3 separate regions of the Homo sapiens genome follow, and all the other regions are linked to region 2. Evidence: promoter capture Hi-C in 16 types of primary human blood cells and fetal thymus (Javierre and others, 2016). All regions are on one chromosome and are shown on one strand. Each heading gives the region's core, a stretch centred on a gene start or on the middle of the fragment in contact. The rest is flanking DNA. Distances are from core to core; before and after follow the strand shown. Region 1 overlaps PPP2R1B (protein phosphatase 2 scaffold subunit Abeta). Region 2 holds the start of THYN1 (thymocyte nuclear protein 1). Region 3 overlaps USP28 (ubiquitin specific peptidase 28).

The links. Contacts are between HindIII fragments. The CHiCAGO score rates a contact against its expected background, and 5 or more counts as called.
Region 1: a fragment that was not itself captured here is called in contact with the fragment with the promoter of THYN1 in region 2 in 1 of 17 cell types (neutrophils); the score reaches 6.1 in neutrophils.
Region 3: a contact is called between a fragment that was not itself captured here and the fragment with the promoter of THYN1 in region 2, in 1 of 17 cell types (neutrophils). The highest score is 5.6, in neutrophils.

What each region holds. Positions count from the first base shown.
Region 1 is chr11:111,758,368-111,761,523 of GRCh38, forward strand. PPP2R1B (protein phosphatase 2 scaffold subunit Abeta) reads right to left here. Exons shown (of 15, transcript NM_002716.5): 4 at 2,452-2,684; 5 at 1,437-1,584. Among named protein-coding and RNA genes, the nearest start is that of PPP2R1B, 6.4 kb to the right of the region's middle. The HindIII fragment of the contact is 626 bases long and covers 1,070-1,695 here.
Region 2 is chr11:134,251,845-134,255,162 of GRCh38, forward strand. It overlaps THYN1 (thymocyte nuclear protein 1), which reads right to left and starts at 1,508. Exons shown (of 7, transcript NM_014174.3): 1 at 996-1,508. The coding sequence starts at 1,038. It overlaps ACAD8 (acyl-CoA dehydrogenase family member 8), which reads left to right and starts at 1,724. Exons shown (of 11, transcript NM_014384.3): 1 at 1,724-1,865. The coding sequence starts at 1,757. RefSeq lists an enhancer at 1,269-1,638. The HindIII fragment of the contact is 5,608 bases long and covers 1-3,318 here.
Region 3 is chr11:113,869,200-113,872,563 of GRCh38, forward strand. The region is part of intron 1 of USP28 (ubiquitin specific peptidase 28); the gene reads right to left. Among named protein-coding and RNA genes, the nearest start is that of USP28, 4.7 kb to the right of the region's middle. The HindIII fragment of the contact is 5,153 bases long and covers 1-3,364 here.

The sequences.
Region 1 (3,156 bases), core at 133-2,632, about 22 Mb before region 2:
GATCACAAGGTCAAGAGATGGAGACCATCCTGGTCAACATGGTGAAACCCCGTCTCTACTAAAAATACAAAAGTTAGCTTGGCGTGGTGGCATGCGCCTGTAGTCCTAGCTTCTTGGGAGGCTGAGGCAGGAGAATTGCTTGAACCCGGGAGGCAGAGGTTGCAGAAAGCCGAGATTGCACCACTGCACTCCAGCCTGGTGACAGAGTGAGACTCCTTTTAAAAAAAGAAAAGAAAAGAAAAGAAAAAGTGCAAAGAAAACAAAGGCTGCGCTTACCATAAAAGTCAGGATAATGTTACTCTTAAGGAAATGGAGTGGCAAGTGGAGGAGGAAAGAGAGATTGTGTTTGAAAGGGAATCCATGGAGGGATTCTGGGATAGTGGCTGTCAAAGTGATGTCTCCTATCATAGGTGATCGTTAACAAGTTGGTATTACCTTCTAATAGTTCATTAAGTTATACATTCATTTTGTACATTTATTATTAGAATAAAAATTCTAATAATTTTTAAAATTATTTTCAAAGTAGGATTTAGATCTTTAGATTTAGGATCTGAAAATGAGACTCATTAATATGTGTCCTGGGGCTTGTGGTCCTGTACACATGAAGCGATCTTAGGGCAGGCAACATGCAAATTAAAAGCCCAAAAGGACTATTCTAGAGTCCAGGAACTCTGGGAGCTGATCCTATTAAGCACCATTACAGAGAAGCGGGACAGCCTAGCTGTGAAGGGCACAAATTCTGGAGCCAAACCACCTAGATTCAAATTCTGACTCCACTACTGCTAACTATGCAAACTTCAGCAAGTTACTTAAACTTTCTGTGCCTTTGTTTTCTAATGTGTAAAATGGGCTATCTCATGGGGCTGTTGTAAGGACTGAATTACTTAATACACATAACTACTTAAAGGCAGAGAAAAATTAAGTACTTCATTTGGATGTTTGCTAGTTTTATTGTTATTTCTACACCAAAGAGATCTAGATCTTCAGAATTGAATACGATTATGTGAAGTAATCCCATACACTACTATAGAAGAAGCAGAGAGTCAAATAGCTTTCCTAACACATTCTAAGCTTATTTATCTGAAAAGTCAAAAATTCCAGGAAACATTACTCCCTCATATTACAATACAGCCAGCAATTCCCAAAGGTATGTTACCCTCCATGCAGCTTTGGTCTTCCTTTCTAATTATGGCTCCCATTTCCTCTCTGACTCCCCACTCTTTTAACAGCTGCTAATGTAAGAGAGAAATCATGGTCTGGTTAAGAAAGAAACATAAGAACATTGAGATAAGCATGTTACACTTTAACCAGGCCAGAATCAGCACTAATTCTGTAAAAAGAATCCTAACAAGAAAACTAAAACTCCCCAAAGAAATTCTGAAAATTTAGAGGAAAGGAGCATATCTGTGTCCCTTAAATACTAAGAGTTAGTTTACCTGTTCATCTGAAGCTAGACTAGTGAACAGTGGAACAATTTCACTTTTCACACTGTCTAATTCCAAAACTTTTGCAAATTCACCCAATTTGGAAGCAGCAGCACGTCGTACCATTGGTGTGTCATCTGAGCACAAGGAACGGAATTGCCTGCAACATAAAACAATGAAGGTATTTCCCATCAAATAACACTGAATAAACCTGCCCCCCATACACACAGACAGACTTTTAGAGGTTTTATCTTACAATAATCAGTGACTAAGCTTCTACTTATAGAAGTAACAAAAATAAAACATATTCAACTGGATAATAAAAAATGACATCATAGGCCAGGCATGGTGCCTCACACCTGTAATCAAAGCACTTTGGGAGGCCCAGGTAGGAGGACTGCTTGAGGCCAGGAATTGAAAGCAGACTGGGCAACATAGCAAGACCCTATCTATATGCCAAAAATATTTTTGTTGTTGTTTGTCGGGGGCTCAAGTGAACTCCCACCTCAGCCTTCTGAGTAGCTAGAAATACAGGCGGGTCCCACCATGCCCAGCTAATTTTTTTCTTTTTAGTAGAGACAAGGTCTCACTATGTTGCTCAAGCTGGTCTTGAACTCCTGAGTTCAAGCAATCCTCCCACCTCAGCCTCTCAAAGTGCTGGGATTACAAGCATGAGCCACTGCATCCAGCCAGAAATTTTTTTTAAAAATTAGCCAGGCGCAGTAGTGTATGTCGGTAGTCCTAGCTACTTGGAGGCTGAGGCTGGAGGATCACTTAAGCACAAGAGTTCAAGGTTGCAGTGAGCTATGATTGTGCCACCGCACTCCAGCCTAGACAACAGAGCAAGACCTTATCTCTTAAAAAAAAAAAAGAAAGATGTCATAAATCCTACTATCCTAGTATCAGCCACTCATTGGTAACAAGGTACTATGTAAATTGTCAGCTACAAGTCCCCAGTAATCCCAAATAACTCATAGCTTACTACCTGATTTCTGCTTTAACAAGGCAAAAAAATACCATGGCTTACTGTCTGATTTCTGCTTTAACAGCATTTGATGCCCTGGGATAGCAAACGCTGAACAAACCACATGCAGATGTGCGAGAGGTGAACCAATCCCCACTTGCTAAGCGTTTCACCAGAGGTACAAAATAAGCTTCCAGAGCAACAGGAGTATGCTCCTGGGAGATCTGTCTCAGGGACTCCACAGCCTTGTCACGAACAACAGTCTCTTCCACAGTTGCCAGATTTTCCAAAGGAGGCTGAATGGATTAAAAAGGAAAACCAGAGAAGAAAACTTATTGAATCAGGTTAGAAACAGATAATCACCTTTTAAAGTGACTGAAGGGAGGTGGTACACGTAACCAGAATGTTAGCTGCATCATACCAAATGGTTACTTTCAGCTCACACAGTGATAACATATGGTGCGGCCAACCCAAAGACACGACTTCTGTAGAAAAGCCAAGATCTCGTGTCCCAGATGGCAATTCCCAGATGGTGTCTACAAATGACACAGTGTAAAAGACTTGACACAATATTAATATTACTGTGAGTTGAATCACTAGGTTTAAAAGATACATAGCCAAATTCAGACAGGATCATGTATATTTCCTCAAGAGTAAGTACAAAACTATGACCAATGTTAGGCACCACAAATACAGGATAACAGCTTGTCAGGTCACTGAGTCCACAGCCTTTTCAGTATCTTTCCACCATTCCCAGAGGTGCAAGCA
Region 2 (3,318 bases), core at 258-2,757:
TGTAGAAAAATGGTGATGATTCGATTTCATCCCAAGACAATCAGAATGTGCCTGGAACACAGTAGGCATTCAGTAGCTAAGTTGTTAAATTACTATATGACAGGGCCCAAGGTCTATGTGTTACCCTAACCCTAACTCGGTTAATCTACATAACCTGTGAGATGTTCTACTCTTCATCTGGGAAGCATGCTCCAGATCACACATCCAGTAATGGTGGAATCAAGATATGAGGTCAGCACCTGTCACTGAGGTCTATCTGAAGCTACTTAATGACTATACTGCCTCTGAATTTAGTCAAAGTCCCTACATCAATTGTCATTAAATACCATTTATGGCTGTCTAATGCTCTGAACCCAGCATACCTTCCTAACCTAGTTTCCTAATGGCCCCTTAGGAGTTAACAGGCCCACTGCAAACACCACATATTGATAAATAACTGCAATGTGCTGTAGTATATCTGGAACCCCTGTCATTCCCAAAAGAGGTACTTTCTGTACCTTCCAATGTTCCTCCTCCTCCATCCACTTAGAATGCCATCCATCTTTGTGATTATAAAAACGACATCACGTTTTCTTAGTACTAAACTTTGCCCGTGGAAAGTCTCCCATTCTTCAAGGCTGGGCTCAAATTCCACATCCTTCTCGAGGCCTTCCCCGTGATTCCTCCCTCCATAAACTTAACAATCCATTTTCCTGAACCCCATCACATCTGTTTGCAGTTCACCCGCAAGCAGGCGCTTTATATTCTTTAGCACGCCACCTGGTATCTCAAAGAGTCTTTGTGCACAACAACCATTGCCTGAATAAACAAGAAAAAGGAACTGTAGGTAGGAGCTTGGTGAGACAAGTAAAGAAGATGGAGAGTGATTAAGGATAATGGAGTAAAAATATCACAAAGGGTTCTCAAAAAGCAGGGAGTGAAAAATGAGTACTAAACAGGCTCTTCGAGAAAAGTTTTTTCTTGGGCTGCCTTTGTGCAGCCTAGGGGCAGCTCACCTGAACCAGAAGTCCCAGCCAGCCTCTTCCGGGGTCTCGACATGGTCACGCTGCAGGGGACTTTAGTGCGGACGATTCTGGAATCAACGGAGATACAAGAAAGAATGCTAATGTCCTCCAAAACCCGCGCAGAGCGAGATGGAGGCAACGAGAGGCAGCCTAGAACGTCTCCAACTTTTGCGAAACACAGACGCCTACGTTTGAGCCCTCAAATCCTTCCCTCCGTTATCTGCGCCATTTCCATCTCGCATAACCTGCCCCTAAACTCTTCTCGGTTCTGTCCTTGGTCCTTCTCATCCAGGAACCCCTATCTCAGTATGTAGTTCACTGGGAAGTGGCTCCACAGAGACACTTTTGTTGGGTGAATATAAGTAAGCCTTGTGTTACCTTGTTATCCTTGCTAATTAGGATCAACTGAATGGATAATCTAGATGATGAAGTAATTTGCTGGCTACAGACCCAACACTCTGCAGACTCGACTGCGGTCCGCCTCCGCTGCGCCGCAGGCTGTGCAGCGCGACCCCCGCGGCGCTTGGTGGGCGGTGCATCTCTGCGGCGCCGAGGCCCCGAGGACTTCTGGGAATTGTAGTCCTGTCCCCTTGGGAGCCCGCCTGGCACCTGGGTTGTTAGGGCTCGTGGGAGGACTACAACCCCCAGGGTGCAGTGGGACAGGCGTTGCCGGGTCGCAGGTCCCGCCAGTGCGAGCGCAACGGAGGTCGAAGGCGTTCAGACTCTTAGCTGAACGCGGAGCTGCGGCGGCTATGCTGTGGAGCGGCTGCCGGCGTTTCGGGGCGCGCCTCGGCTGCCTGCCCGGCGGTCTCCGGGTCCTCGTCCAGACCGGCCACCGGAGCTTGACCTCCTGCATCGACCGTAAGGATCTCCTGGCGGGCAGTAGGACAGGTGTCCAGAACCCCGGCGGACATATGTCCGCGAGGGGCTGCAGTCTCCCCGTTCCATCCAGTCACCCCGGCGTCAGCTCCCCTTCCGGCCAGTCACCCCCCCGGCCTGGCTCCCTACTCCGGCCGGTCACCCCCGGCCTGGCTGCCCCCTCCGGTCGGTCACCACCATCCGGGTCCCCATCTGGCCCGTCACCCCTGCCCGGGTCCTCCTCCGGCCGGTCACCCCCGCCCCGGTCCTCCTCCGGCCGGTCACCCCCGCCCCGGTCCTCCTCCGGCCGGTCACCCCCCGCAGGTTCCCCTCCGGCCGGTCATCCCCCCGCAGGTTCCCCTCCGGCCCGGGTCCTCCTGCGGCCGGTCACCCTCGGATGCTTAGAGAAGTGAAGAAACTTGGGGCTTGGTTGTTGTTGGGTTGGTTGGTTTTTAATCATAACAGTAGGTCATAAAAGCAGTGAGAATATAAGAAGCTGGCTGGGTGCTGATGGTGACAACTGCACAAGAACTCCAGGTCATACAAGATTTGCTCACACACAAAGATTTGGTATCTTAACACCTCTGGCTATAAGACACTTTTAGTGTTGAAACTCATGCAGGAAAAATAATTATTATTGCCAGTGGGAAACTCTACCAGAGCTGACAAACTTGAGTGTCTTTAGGCTCTGAACAGTAATTTGAATGTAGCGAGGAGTGGTGGAGACCCGGCCAGTTTGTGACTTCTCTGCCAAGAATGTTTATAAACACTTTTTTCTTCTGAAATATTTTTAAATTTATTTTAAATAAATGGCAGTTTTCTTTACAACAGAATAAGTCCCTTAGATATCAGATCTATAAAGTACAGTAAGGCATAGAATACTGTTTTCTTCTGAATGTCCTAAAACTCATTCAAGAGGTGCTGCCCTGGCCTAGCGCTTAGAATTTGATAACCCAGATTACCCTGGTTGATACCGAAGCAGATAAGGAATTATTTAGAGGTGGGTTTTGTTATTGTTTGCATCTTGCTTACACTTGAGTGGCTCTGCAGTCAAAGGCTTTTCCCATTTCATTTGGAGTGTTTTTCTATTTAGCTTTACCTTTTTAGTGTATATGTATTGGCATCTTGAGCTCTGCTAGTAACTATGTATTGGCATCTTGAACTCTGCTAGTAACTGGCAAAGTTCATGAGTGGTGGTATTTGTTTTGTTTTTATACTGTATTTCCTTCTGGGAACTTGTGTTTACTTATGCATATGATTTGCATAAAACTATTTCCTTCCATTAGAATGCAACTCAGATTTATTTCTTAAGCCTGTGGTTCCTTGAACTATTTGTTTTAGGAAGTAGCCATTTACAGAAGAAGAAGATTTGTTAACATTTAATGAGCTCTTGCTAGGATTGAAATAGTCATCCTTTGTGTGAATGGATCTTATTTATTTATTTTTTTGAGATGGA
Region 3 (3,364 bases), core at 283-2,782, about 20 Mb before region 2:
AGGCAGACGGATCACCGGAGGTCAGGTGTTCAAGACCAGCCTGGCCAACATGGTGAAACCCCGTCTCTACTAAAAATACAAAAATTAGGCGTGGTGGCATGTGCCTGTAATCCCAGCTACTTGGGAGGCAGAGGCAGAAGAATCAATAGAACCCGGAAGGCGGGGGTTACAGTGAGCTGATCTCACGCCACTGTACTCCATCCTGGGCAACAGACTGCGGTCCGTCTCAAAAAATAAAATAAAACAAAAGTAGCCAGGTGTGGTGGTGCATACCTGTGGTCCCAGCTACTCAAGTGTCTGAGGATTGCTTGGGTCTGGGTGGTCAAGGCTGCAGTGAGCCTTGACGGTGTCACCACACTCCAGCTTGGGTGACAGAGTGAAACCCTATCTCAAAAAACAAACAAGACATCTCAGTTTCCTCATCAGTAATAGGGTAATAGTTCACACCTTGCTGGGTTTTTGTAAATAAAAATGTATGGAAAAGTGCTTAGGGTGGTACATAGCATATGGCAGACACGAGTAATACAAGTGTACATTCCCATGCCTAGTATAACAACCCTGGGAAAATAAGTATGAAGCAAACGTTTATAGCCAAGGAGGTTGATATTCAAGCAGACCTGTTCAAAAAGCACTGGGAAACAGAGTATAGAAGTCATTTGCAACTCAGGATTAGAAATGTAGATTTGGAGCCAGGTGTTCACGCCTGTAATCCCAGCACTTTGGGAGGCTGAGGTGGGCAGATCACCTGGGGTCAGGAGTTCAAGACCAACCTGACAAACATGGAGAAACCCTGTCTCTACTAAAAATACAAAATTAGCTGGGCATGGTGGTGCATGCCTGTAATCCCAGCCACTCGGGAGGCTGAGGCAGGAGAATCACTTGAACCCAGGAGGCGGAGGATGCAGTGAGCCAAGATCGTGCCAATGCACTCCACCCTGGGCAACAAGAGCGAAACTCCGTCTCAAAAAACAAAACAAGAAAAAAGTAACAGCAAAAAAGTGGTAATGAGGGATCATAAAAGCATAAAATAATAAAAGTATGAGGGGGCCAGGTGTGGTGGCTCATGCCTGTAATCCCAACACTTTGGGAGGCCAAGGCAGGAGGACTGCTTGAGCCCAGGAGTTCAAGACCAGCCTGGGCAACATAGCAAGACCTCGTCTCTATAAAAAATTAAAAAAACAGCCAAGTGCGGTGATGCACGCCTGTGGTCCCAGCTACTCAGGAGGCTGAGGTGGGAGGATCGCTTGAGCCTAGGAGGTCAAGGCCAAAGTGAGCTATAATCACATCGCTGCACCCCAGTCTGGGTGACAGAGGGAGAGATCCTGCCTTGGCAAAGTAGGCTGCTGAGCAGATTCTGATTACATAAAACCACTCACTGCCTTTCAACCTAACCTGCTGCTGCCTAGTCAGTCCCTCTGCAGGCCTCTGAACAATCAGCCATTTGCTGGAGCCCAGACTGGTCCACACGGCCATCTCATTATTTGGCTTTTGCAGAAGCTGTTATTGCCACCTTAAGCTCTGTAGCAGAATCTGGGAACCAACCTTCCTCAATCTCCTGTCAGCTAAGAGTTAGTCTTGCTCAAGTCTGTCTTTTCCAAGTTTTGTATATTGAGTCTGAATACATTGTCACTGGAAAAATGTTTTAGAAATGAAACAGGTGGGGTTAGAAACTTTGTTCCAAAAGCAAACAAGAGGAGGAAGGTGGAGACAACAGCTGGACTGGGCAATAGACACTTTTGTTGTTGTTATTTGGTTTCAAGATAGAGGACAAGTGCACGGTAAAATGGAAAATGCAAATTCAAAATGTAATATGCAAATGAATCACCCAAGAATCTTGTCAAAAGGCAGAAACTGATTGAATAGGTCTAGAGTGGGGGTACAGGCAGTGGTATGCTGATTGGCAGTGTATGCTTGTTTCCTTGGTATAAATATTCCCACCTTGGCACAGTTATCAACACGAGGTCATTGAACACAGAGCTGGAAAGAGATGTACAAAATCAGCTGGAGAGGCAGAGCAAGCTGGCTCTAGCACACTCAACTTTCTGCATGTCTAAATCCTAGGGGATGTGAATGCTGCTGGTCTGTGGACCATAATGTGAGTAGCAAGGGAGAAGACAGTGAAGGTGTCTGGGGGTTAGACTAGGACTAAGGAGAAGGGACATAATAGAAAGAGAAGAGAGACATCATCTAGATCAGAGTTTGTCAAGCTCAGCACTATTTTATACAATTTACACATAACTCTGTTTAGAGGGGCTTACTCCTGTACACTGCAGGATGTTTAGCAGCATTCCCGGCTTCTACGCACTACATTCCAGTAGCATCCTCCCTCCAGAGTCACAATCAAAGTCTCCAGACATTGCCAAATGCTTCCTAGATTACAAAATCTCTCCCTAGTAAAAACCATTAATCTAGGTTTATCTCTAAGAAATGAAAGGGGGAAAAAGGAAGGGAACCTTTTCCACTGAAATAAGAGAAAAGAGATGAGATGGCGTAGGGAGAGGGGGACAAAACAGAAGGCAGGGAGCTCTTTTTAGACATCAGCGAGCTCAGTCAAGTAGAAAAGAAGATTATCTATTTAGAAAGACTGTAGGGAGGACTGGAAGTTTAAAACATTAGGAGAGTTCTAGAAAAGGCATTATAAGAGTAGTGGAAAGTCTGTGATCCAGGGCAATGGGCCCATCAACTATGAGATAGGACCAGGGGCGCCTTGGGCTCTTGGGGTCAGAACTGCCTAGATACAATTCCAACTGTACCATATCCTCACTGGGTGACCTTGGACGAATTACTTAACAAGTATAAGCCTTCTCATAGAAACTTCATGGAGTTGTGTAAGTACTGAGAGAATGCTATGTTAAGTTCTGAGCACCGAGTCTGGCACATAGTGCATGCTCAATTAGCATTAGCTATTACTATTACCAGCATTATTTTCCTTGTTAAGTACTTGCTTCATTTTACTATTGATTTAATTTCTTTGATGAAACAGAACACATGGAGAGATCTCGCCTGGTAAGATGCTATTTGCCAGTAAGTCTTAAAAATACTGTTTGCAGACCGAGGCGGGCGGATCATGAGGTCAGGAGATCGAGACCATCCTGGCGAACACTGTGAAACCCCGTCTCTACTAAAAATACAGAAACATCAGCCGGGCGTGGTGGTGGGCACCTGTAGTCCCAGCTACTCAGGAGGCTGAGGCTGGAGAATGGCATGAACCCGGGGGGCGGAGCTTGCAGTGAGCAGAGATCGCGCCACTGCACTTCAGCCTGGGCAACAGAGCGAGACTCCGTCTCAAAAAAAAAAAAAAATACTGTTTGCATTTGGGGGCAGAGGGGCATGAGAGTTGTGGAACCAATCACTGACTTACTGA